Linked DNA regions of Homo sapiens: region 1 is linked to region 2. Evidence: promoter capture Hi-C in 16 types of primary human blood cells and fetal thymus (Javierre and others, 2016). All regions are on one chromosome and are shown on one strand. Each heading gives the region's core, a stretch centred on a gene start or on the middle of the fragment in contact. The rest is flanking DNA. Distances are from core to core; before and after follow the strand shown.

Region 1 (5,049 bases), core at 43-2,542, 640 kb before region 2:
CTCCTTCCGGGAAGGCAGAGGTACCAGGGAGGAGACAGCTCAGGTTACACAGGCCCTCAGGGCCCCTAGACTCTCCCTAAGGTGGGGCTGAGGTGGGGAATGGGCCTAGAGCGGCCGGTTGGGAGCCGTTGGAGCTGACTTTGCTGCTCCTCACCCAAGGCTGACCCCAGGCCCAACCTAAGTCTACAGGGCCCCAAGAGCCTTGGTTTTCAGGTGAGGTGTCCATGCATGGAGTCCACCAACAGAACCCGCCTACAGGTTTAAGGCTTGTTGGGGAGGGGACATGCACCCCAGGGGGTCTTCAGGGCCTGAACCCACATCTCCCAGGGAGACTGAAGCCCCCGGACCCTACCACCTGCTGGGCAGAGATGCTGCCCCTCCTGGGAGCCACGTGTTCCCAGCCCCAGTCAAAACTTCGCAGCTGGCCCTCCCCTACTTTGGAGGTCTCCTCGAGTCCCTAGACTCCTCCGAGAGGGGCTAGTGGGAGCCTCAGGTGGCTGGCCCCTCCCACCCCATCCAGAGGCCAACAGGTTCCAGCCTGTCCCGGGTAGGGCGGAGCTGCGCCCCCTCCCCACCGGCAGCAGGCGGCGGAGGCCAAGTCCCGCCCTCCCCGGGATCCCGGACTTGGGGCCGCCAGGGACTGGGCCCGGCCCCCCTCCCGCCCCGGTCACCGCAGTCGAACTGGACCGGCGCCCAGCCGCCCCCGGGTCCATGCCGGGGACTTTAATTCCGCCTTCCCGGAGGGACGCGAAGTTTCCCGGCCGAGACGGAGCGGCCGGGTCGGGGTGCCTTCTTGGGCCCCCAAAATGCGGAACCAGAGAGTCCGCACCTGGACTCGCCCCGGGCCACGGCGCTCCCCCTGGGGTCGGGCCGGTGTTCCGGGTCCGAGTGCCCCGGGAGGAAGCCCCACGGCCCGCCCCTGCGCTCACCCGGATGGTCTGGTTGGGGTCGCCGCCGGCCACGGGGCCCCCTACCAGCTTGCAGTAAAGGTCCTCGGTGGGGCGCGGGGAGCCGCGCGCCGGGGCCTCCTCTCCGCAGGTCGCGGAGGCGGCGATGCGGGCGCCCTCGGCCAGGTTGAAGTAGGGCGGGTGCAGGCTGAAGCCGCCGCCCGCCTCCTCCCGCGCCCGCGCCGCGCCCAGCAGCGCCAGCCCGACCAGCAGCAGCGGCGCGGGGCCCCGGGGGCCGCGAACACACAGTGCGCTCCCCGCGCAGAGCCGCTTCGCCATCTTCCCGGCTCCGGGCCGCGTCCCCGAGCTCCAGGGACAGCGCGCGCGGCGGGAGCCCGGCGGGTCTGAAGCCAGGCGGCCGGCAGGGCTCGCTCCGCCCGCGGACGTCAGGCCCCGCCCCGGCCCGCCCGAGCGCCCGAGCCCCGAGCCCCGGGGAGAGGTCCGGGGAGGCGGGGTGGGGGGGGGAAGGAGAGAGGAGGGGGAGGGGCGGCCGGGCGGCCTTAACCCTTCGGACCCCGGCCCGGCCGCCTCCCGGAAGGGGCACCTGCTGGCCTCGGGCCAGGCCGTGGGACGACGGCGCCGCCGGGCCCCCAGCCCAGGTCGTAGCTCCGGGTCCCGGGTGGGACCCTAGCGCTCCCCACGACGCCCTGGCCCCCAGAGCGCCCACCAGCTCCTCCCAGCCCAGGGGCCCACTCTTTGTTCCCCTAACTTGGGTGCACCACTCGGCTGCCCCCGCTCCTCCCCCAACAGCGTCCGTCCTGCTGGCTGCGGGAAGGTGCCCTCTGCACCCGCGAATGACCATCTGCAGAGGAACGGGGCAGCCTAGGTGGGAACCCCCTGCTTCCTGGGGCAGCCAGGTCAGGTTCAACTCGGCCTGGCTCCCGCCTGCCCCAGCAGGGCTTAAAAATACTCTCAGATAGGGAAATAGGGGCAGGAGGGACTGGCCTGCAGCTGCAGCCCCCTTTAGAGGACGGGGGCGGTGCTCATGGCCCCACAGCCGCCAAATTGGCTCTTAAGGAGGTCGGGGGCTCTGGTCACAGCTGCTGAGCACCTGCTGGGTGCCTGGAAGCACCTGTGCTCCGGGGCCCGGTGGACTCCACCAGCTCTCTCGGCCTGGCCTCCAACCCGCTGCACAGCCGCGCACGCGTTCCTGCCACGATCGGCGGCTCGAGGACGCCTGGCAAACAGCACAGGACCTAGAGGCCGAGATCAGGTCTTCGTCTGCCTTTGGGTGGCTGCGGCCCTGGGTCTCCTACTTCCCTTGGGCTCCGGGGCCAAATCTGCCTCCAGGGAAGCCCCGAGGGGGTGGCGGCGGGGTGGGGCTGCAGCTGCCGAGCTGGCAGCAAACCCCCATCCCTGAGCCAGGCCAGCTGGGCGGGCCATGGTCCCAGATGGGCTGTGGGGCTCATCTCTCGCTGGGTTCCCTGGACAGTCCCGGGGGGCTGGGTGGGTTTGTGGGGCACTGGCCAGCCGGTTCTGGTGGGGGTTCTGAGCTAGCAGCTGTCCCTGGAGGGTGCACCTCCTTGCACACCTTCCTGGCGCCCTGGCCTCCTGCAAATCTCAAATCCCAAGAGGGTGTATGGCCCTTTCTCTACGGAGTCGGGAGGGCGATGGGACCCTCTCTCCCTCCTCCTACTTTCCGGCCCGGCAATTCTTCCATAACTTCACTATTAGTTCTCCCACCTGGGGGAGGGGGGAGAGGAGGCGGCTCCCCTTGGCAGGAGAAGCTCCAAGTGGGGGAGGGGCTGGCTGGAGAGGGGGCGGAGACATCAAGGAATCTGCAGTCCAGGCGCAGAGTCCGGCTCTGAGCTGCTTTAGATCCCGTGTGAGGCAGAGAGTGGCCTCTGGGCAGTAGCGGGTCCCCAGGTGGGGGCTTGGCCCCAGGCAGTGTGCTCTGGCTCTGGGCTCCCCCTTGACAGCTTGGGGCTCTGACAGCCTGGGGGACTGGAGGTGGAGACTCCTGAGACCCTGAGGGCTTCTTGGGATCCCTGGAGGGTCGGGTGGTTGGAGGGGTGGGATTGCGAGTGGCGGGGCAGGGGGAGAGGTGGGGGTGGGGAGAGCACTTTAAGCCTCCTAGCGGCCAGATCAGGCCAAGCTGCCAGGCCTCCGCTGTCCCCCGGCACTGGCCAGGAGGGGAGCGGGGGCCGGCCCTGAGAATGCGCTGTGTCAGCCGGAGCTGCCAGCACCAGCAGGGTTAATCACCGGGCTCACTGCTTCCCGGCAGACAGCTGCCCCGGGAGCAACTGGCAGGCAGGCGGGCAGCGCAGTGGACAAGAGAATGTGGCCCAGGGGCTGGGTAAAGAGCCCACACTCTGCCCCCACCCTGTGTCTGCTGGTGCACGGACTGGGAAGGAGGCAGCTGGGGCAGGAGCTGAGCGTATGGAGGGCGGGGGGGCTGTCCCAGCCGGGCTACACACAGGGGGTTGGGGAGGTGAGCAGGGAGAGGGGCAGCTCATCTCTGCACACCCCCACCCCTGCTGTCTTTGTCATGGTTCCAGTGAGTCATCACCAAATGGACCAGCGAGCCTGTCTCCTTGTCTTTCTGAGTCCTGCGCAGCCCAGCCACCTCTTCTATTTACAAATGGGGAAACTGAGGCCAAAAAGGCCAGGGTCAATCAAGAGCACACAAGTTAGTAAAGCAAGAGGAAGTTTGTCCATCATTCATTTCTTACTCCTATTTACTGGGCATCTTTCGGGCACCCGCCCGTGACGTAGTCCTCCTCCCTGCAACAGGTCAGACGGCACCCCACCCCCAAACACGTCCTGTCCTGAATCCACAGGAGGGAGCTGCCCAGTCTGGGAGTGGAGGGGAGGGTAAAAGGAGGTGGCTCGCCAGGGGAGGGCCGTGGAGGAGCCTCTGTCCCACCAGGCTCTGGCTGCCCTCCAGGGACAATCCAAGATCCAGAGCCCCTGCCCACCCAGCTCCAGGGTGATGGAGCCCCAGAGGAGGTGGGTCGGGGGCAGGGGTCAGTGGCAGCCCGAGAGAAGTAGGGGCACTCCTGGCCCTGGGGAAGGGGTCTCAGATCCTCCCCCAGCCCTGGGACAAGGTCTGCTGCGGAGCCCTGGGGGCAGCCACCTCACCTGAGCCCCCAGTGCTACTCCAGTGGCATTCCTGAGAATGCCCCCACCCTACTCGGCCACACCTGCAGGCAGCTGTGGGGGACCCTGAGGGTAGGCCACAGGCACATCTGACTCAGCCGTGAGTCGTGAACTCCTGACCTTGGGAGCCTCCTGGGGACACCGCTGTGCTGAGGACATGGGGCACCCCCACGCCCACACTCAGCTGCATCACAGGCAGCCACAATCAGTAACAGATGACTCTGCAGACCCTCCTGTCCCAGAGCCCAGGGTCCAAGTGGGTGCTGTACCCTCGGGAGAAGCCCCCAAGAGGAAGCGGGGGCTGAGCAAGAAGGAGGGCTGGAGGCTGGGCTCCTGCTAGGGCCGGGCCTGCGGGTGAGGCCTTGTGGCTCCCACTCCAGAACTGGGAATGTTGTCTCAGCGGGATGAGGTCTGGAGGAACGCCAGCGCTGTGGTTTGGGATATCGGAGGCCACAGTCCCTTTCTCAGGGCTGCTGGGATGCCCTTCCGTGGAGCCGGCTGGTAAGAACCTCCATCCCTGTCCATGAAATAGAGAAGCTGGGAGCGGGCAGCAAGGCTGGTTCTGAACTGTTCGCGTGGGCCAGCTCAGTCCTCTGGGAGGAGGACACAGAACAGCAGGTGCCGGGAAGACAAGGTCTCATCAGGATTGCATAAACCCAGCGGACTGGGAGAGCTTCTGGGCCTCTTGGCCTAGGAGGCCCCCACTGCCCTCAGCCTGGACAGACTGCTGTAAGAGCCAGCCCGGAGTTGCAGACCCTGGGGGGCTGGCCTCAAAGGAATGGAGGCAGAGCCCAGGAAGACCCTGAGCCATAGCCAGACCCCTCCCCCAGGCCTGGAGCCCGCCTTCCCCCAGGGCTGCCACCTGCCTCCAGCCTCCGAGGGTCTGCAGGTTCCTGCTGCCAGAAGGATGGGGCCAAGGGATAGTCCGGCCTTCCTGGCCTAGGCAGGGTCTGGAAACAGCCCGTTTGGAAGGAGTGGTGCTTTTTCCTCCCTGGCTGTGACC
Region 2 (4,720 bases), core at 1,604-4,103:
AAAAAAGTTTAAATGTAACTTGAATTTTTATTTAAATTAAGTAATCGGAAGAATTTTTGATTAGTGAAGTGGTTTTTTCAAAAACTTATTCTCCACCCAAAGAGAGAAAGAGAGATTTTTTTCCTCTGCCCTTTTCCTTATGATTTCACACATGTGCTATAATAAGTGGTTGCTTTTAGATGAGTTTTAGCATCTCAGAGACTCTTCAGACTCTGGTTTCGAGTGGACACAAGTATCTGAAAATTGAAATTATTGTGAATTCAGCTACAAATGAACACTATTTCACTTGATATTAAAATTTAACCATATTATTTTTATAAAATAAATGGCAATAAAATGCTTTATTCTGAATATAAATGATGTACCAATGTCTCTGATTTTAACCAGAATAAACACCCCTGTTTCAAATTCTGATAAGCAGGTAATTTATTTAAGATCACGTTGAAATGACCCTAGAAGTGAAGGGCATTTGAGTTTCCAGCTTTCCCACTTTATCTAAAAGGGGAAAAACGGTGTCTGGCACTCAGCTTTTCGAATGTGCAAAACTGATAAACTAGTCTGTTAGGGGAAAAAAAAAAGACAATGAAGAAATAAAAGTGGAAATTAGCAGAAACCAGTATTAGGCATATGTCTTTATGAATAAGACTTAACCATACACTTGATTTTGCAAGTACAGAAGGCCCTGTGGAATGTATTAATCAGAGTTAAACGCTGTAGACAGGCGCGTTGCAGGGCGGCGGCCCTCTCCCCTTGGCATTACCGACAGCCGAGGAAATTGGGTTAATAAAGCCGGATACTGCGGCGGGGCCGCGGGGCGCAAACCGGCGCGGACAGATGGGTCCCCGGGGGCACCCTGCCCGGCTCCCTGGATCCCGGATGGTGGCAGAGCTGGGAGCTGCGCAGGACGGGCACTGCGCAGCGCATCTCCGTTCACACCCGGCGGGGCACGGGGCCCGCAGCAGCTTACTCACCCGTAGCCCGGCCTCCTCCCTCGGAAGGGAGAGGGGATCGGTGGGGAGGGGGTTTGCTGGACACCAGGGCTAGACGGGGCCCTCCCCTGACCGTCAGGGTTAAGTAGGGCGCGGGCTGTGAGGACCCTCCTCCACGCAGCCCCCCGAGGCAGAGGGCCCGCAAAGCGGTCTCCATCCAACTCCACCCCGCGGACGTCCCAGGCAGCGGATGGCGGCGGGGGGGGGAGGCCAGGGGACATTTAGGGGACAAATTCCTCAGACTTCGAGGCAGCCGGCGACGGCGTCCAATTCCCAAATAAATAGAACAAACTCCTACTTGGAAAAGGCCTTCCCCGGGGTCTTCCTGCGCCCGCGGTCCAGCTCCTCTGCAGACGGCCATCGTGGGCTCTCCGCAGGGCTGCGGAGTCTCGGAGTCACCGAGGTGGGAGGTGCCGGCCACGCGCGTCCTCAGGAACAGAGCACTGCCCTGCAGTTTAGCACGAAGGGCCGGCTGGAGCGGGAGCGCGAGGCCCACTGCAAGAGGATCAGGAGCCAGTAAGTCCGGCTTTTCTTCGTCTCCACCTTTCGTGCGCCCGGGGCCAGGACCGCCTGTCCGGAATCTGACCAGTGCCCGTCCTCGCCGTGGCCCTGGGACCCCGCGGTGGTCTTCTTTTGGGGACGAACGGCAGTGCCCGAAGGATGCTCTACCCACCCCCGTTCCTAGACTTGCTGGGTCCCGACAATACCCAGTGGGTGCCGCGAGTTCCCGGGCGCAGAGTCCAGCGTCCGGCTCTCGAGCTCAATCCCGCGCCCCGACGGCCTTGGCGCTTCCCGCTGCGCTAAACTGTCCACCGCGCACAGGCTGGAAGCGAAGTCGGGCCCCCTCCTCCTGGTCTGCAGGGTCCCTCCAGGCCTTTCCTGTCCGGGCAGAGAGACAGTCACAGGGGCGATCGGAGGACGCGTGCGGGAGGGCCGGGGGCCCGCGCGGTCACGGCTTCTCGTGACAGTGTTTGCAAAGCGCGGAGGGCGTCCCGGAGAAGGCGGCGCACTTGTCAGGGCAGGGCCCCAGGGCGGCGCCTGCGGAGAAGGGGCACACAGTGGCCTGGCCGAAGGGCGTCAAGGGCGCGGCGTTTACGGGCGCGGCCAGGCCCTGGCCCTGGTTGAGGAAGGCCACCAGGCGCCGCATCTCGTCCAGGGCCTGCGCCTGCATGAGGATATAGTTCTTGGCGAGCAGCAGCGTGGCGATCTTGGAGAGCTTGCGCACCGACGGGCTGTGCGCGTAGGGGATGACGGCTCGCAGCCCGTCCAGCGCGTCGTTTAGGTCGTGCATGCGCCGCCGCTCGCGCGCGTTGATGCTGAGCCGCAGAGACCGCTGCTCTCGCGGCCGCCGCCGCCCGTCCGCCGCGCTCCCTGGCCCGCGCCGCCGCCGCCGCTGCTCGAAGGCGTCGTCCTCGTCCCCGCTCTGTTCGCCGCTGCTCTCCGCCGCCTGAGCTGGGGCGCGAGGTGCAGGCGCCGCGGGGAGGTCGCCGCCCGGGCCCGGAGTGCCGTAGCCGCGGGCCGCTTCGGGTTCTCGCGCCGCCCCGTAGGCGAGACCCGCAGCCGCCGCCGCGTAGCCGTGGCTTAGTGCCAGGTACGCGTCCCCCGACAGCGACTTGAGCTCGGCCATGGCCGCGCCGCCTGGGCTCGGGGGCTCGCCGGGTGGGCGGATGCTCATGTGGGTGAGCAGCCCCCGAGGCCGGCCCGAGCCCGCCGCTGCCGCTGCCGCTGCGATGAGGCTCCCGGCTCTGCGCGTCGGTCTGGCTTGCCTGCGGGTCCCAGAGCCTCGGCGCCCGCTGCCTCCTCCGCCTCTTCCTTCTCTCCCACCTCCTCTCCCTCCCAGCCGCGACGCGCAGGGGGCGGGCTCTACCTCCCCCTCGCCCCCGCTTCGGTTTTAAGCCGCGGAGGCGCCCGGTGGGACCTCGCTGCTGTCCAATCAGGGGGGACCGGGTGAGCTCCTCTTCCTGGAGCCGGGCTCCACCAGCGCCGCAGGCTCACAGGCCGGGGGTGGGGGCTCTGGACCGAGGGGCGGCGCGGGGCGGCGCGGGGCGGCGCGCGCGGTCCTGGAGCGCTAGTACTTGCTTCTCGACTCCCCGGCCGCCGCCTCCGGCCGCCCCGGGGATTCCGCCACCAAACGCACGCGTCCCAGGTGGGCACCCGCCTCGGTCCGTCTTTGAGTCTGACCCTAGCGCAAGAGTCCCTGGCGACACGCAGGGGCCAGAGCGGGGGGGCGCGCCGCAATAGCAGCAGCGCCAGCGCCAACACCCTGTCCCGCTGAGGGGCCGCTTCGGGTCGGGGTCAGGGTCGTGGGCGCTCTGGTGCAGCCGCGGCGCAGCGTGTACCCGGAGCCCGCACACTCCCTGCTCGGGGCGCCCTGTGGCCAGGCTTGAGGGGCAGAGTGAGAGGGAGTTTCTAGAACCTGTTGAAAAACGCCACGAGCGTTGCAGGCCGGGGAGGGCGGGAAGGTGGAGGGCAGCGCGGCCTGGGGCTCCCCGGGGGTGGGAGGGGAGCTCTGTGAGCTGCAGGACCGCCTCTTCCCTGCCAGCCGCTTCCTGGGCATCTATCAGCGAAACGCGTGAGGCTTGGTGGGCTTTCCCGGAGCCTCCGAACCCCTGGGGTCCAGCCACACTGGATGGGAATGTGGCCAGCCTCGGACTCGCCTTTTCAGTCCTCTTCCAACCCCGCATGAAGGCCAGAACCCCAGCCCTTCTCCCAGGTGGGAACCTGCCTGGAGGCCCGGCCGAGTGCTGAGGCTAGAGTGTGCTGAGGGATAGTGGCTTCTCCGGTCCTGGCTTGGGTGGGAGACTGGGCCACCCTGGCCTATGGCACGAGGTGGAGCGGCCCGTCGGGCCCTTCTGTGTGACCTGGGAAGGGCCGCATACCCTCCCTGTTCTCCAGGCTCCGCCCCAGGAGGAGCCACAGCGATGGGGCAGTGTGCGCAGCCCCGGGAGGGGAGTGGGAGCTGCACGTGTGTGGGGCGGATGTGCTGTCTGGAAGGTTCTGGGAACGCAGCAGTGACCGGCCTGTCCGGTGGTTCCCTGCCAGGTGCGGGGTGTGAGGAGACAGATGCATGGATAAGTCTCCGTGGGAAACTCAGGCCTTTGTCCTGGCGGAGGGGAATGGGTCTGAGGCAGCCTCTGCCGGGCTGGCGGCCTGTCTGGCTGCGCGTCCTGCAGCACCGGCCTCACCCCCAGCACACGCCCGCCAGGAGCGCAGGGGCCCCGAGGATGGAAGCGTCTGTCTGAGGCGCTGTCCTGGGACCCCACCCCGCCTTCGGGGCTGATGCACAGACCGGGAATTGAGGATACCTGGTGTGGAGGAGGCCGCTGTGTTTGGGCCTGGGTCTGAAGGGTGAGTGGGTGTCATTGTGGCCACGGGCCGGGGTCGGGGGAGCATTCAGGTGGCCGGAGGAGGCCTGGCACAGGGAAGGGCAGTGAGGGGCCCGGGTGGGGCCAGGAGATAGAGGGGCGGGACCAGGCCTGTGGGACAGTTTGAATCACGCGGGGAGTTTGGTCTTTATGGGAAGAAAGGCGCCGTGGCCATTCGGAGAGCCACTCTGGCACTGCTGCCGGTGCGGTCCGGGGCTGCGGGGCCTCCTCCTGGGCCTGAACTGCAGGGCTGGTGGGGGCCATGGGGGAAGGTGGCTCCACAGGTCCCCGGAGCTGGGGGAGCAGGAGGATGGGGTTGACCAGGAGGGAAAGCTATGGAGCTGGAGAATGCAGGAGGCCCCCGAG

Evidence for each region. The method cuts DNA at HindIII sites, captures the fragments that hold promoters and counts their contacts. A CHiCAGO score of 5 or more calls a contact.
Region 1: a contact is called between the fragment with the promoter of LAMA5 here and the fragment with the promoter of BHLHE23 in region 2, in 4 of 17 cell types (non-activated CD4 T cells, monocytes, M0 macrophages and 1 more). The highest score is 5.7, in non-activated CD4 T cells.

What each region holds. Positions count from the first base shown.
Region 1 is chr20:62,366,020-62,371,068 of GRCh38, forward strand. It overlaps LAMA5 (laminin subunit alpha 5), which reads right to left and starts at 1,293. Exons shown (of 80, transcript NM_005560.6): 1 at 930-1,293. The coding sequence starts at 1,226. RefSeq lists enhancers at 98-797, 2,896-3,595, 4,996-5,049 and a silencer at 977-1,416. The HindIII fragment of the contact is 18,996 bases long and covers 1-5,049 here.
Region 2 is chr20:63,004,111-63,008,830 of GRCh38, forward strand. It overlaps BHLHE23 (basic helix-loop-helix family member e23), which reads right to left and starts at 2,854. Exons shown (of 1, transcript NM_080606.4): 1 at 1,817-2,854. The coding sequence starts at 2,664. The coding sequence ends at 1,939. RefSeq lists enhancers at 1-248, 2,573-3,278, 3,279-3,986. The HindIII fragment of the contact is 10,733 bases long and covers 1-4,720 here.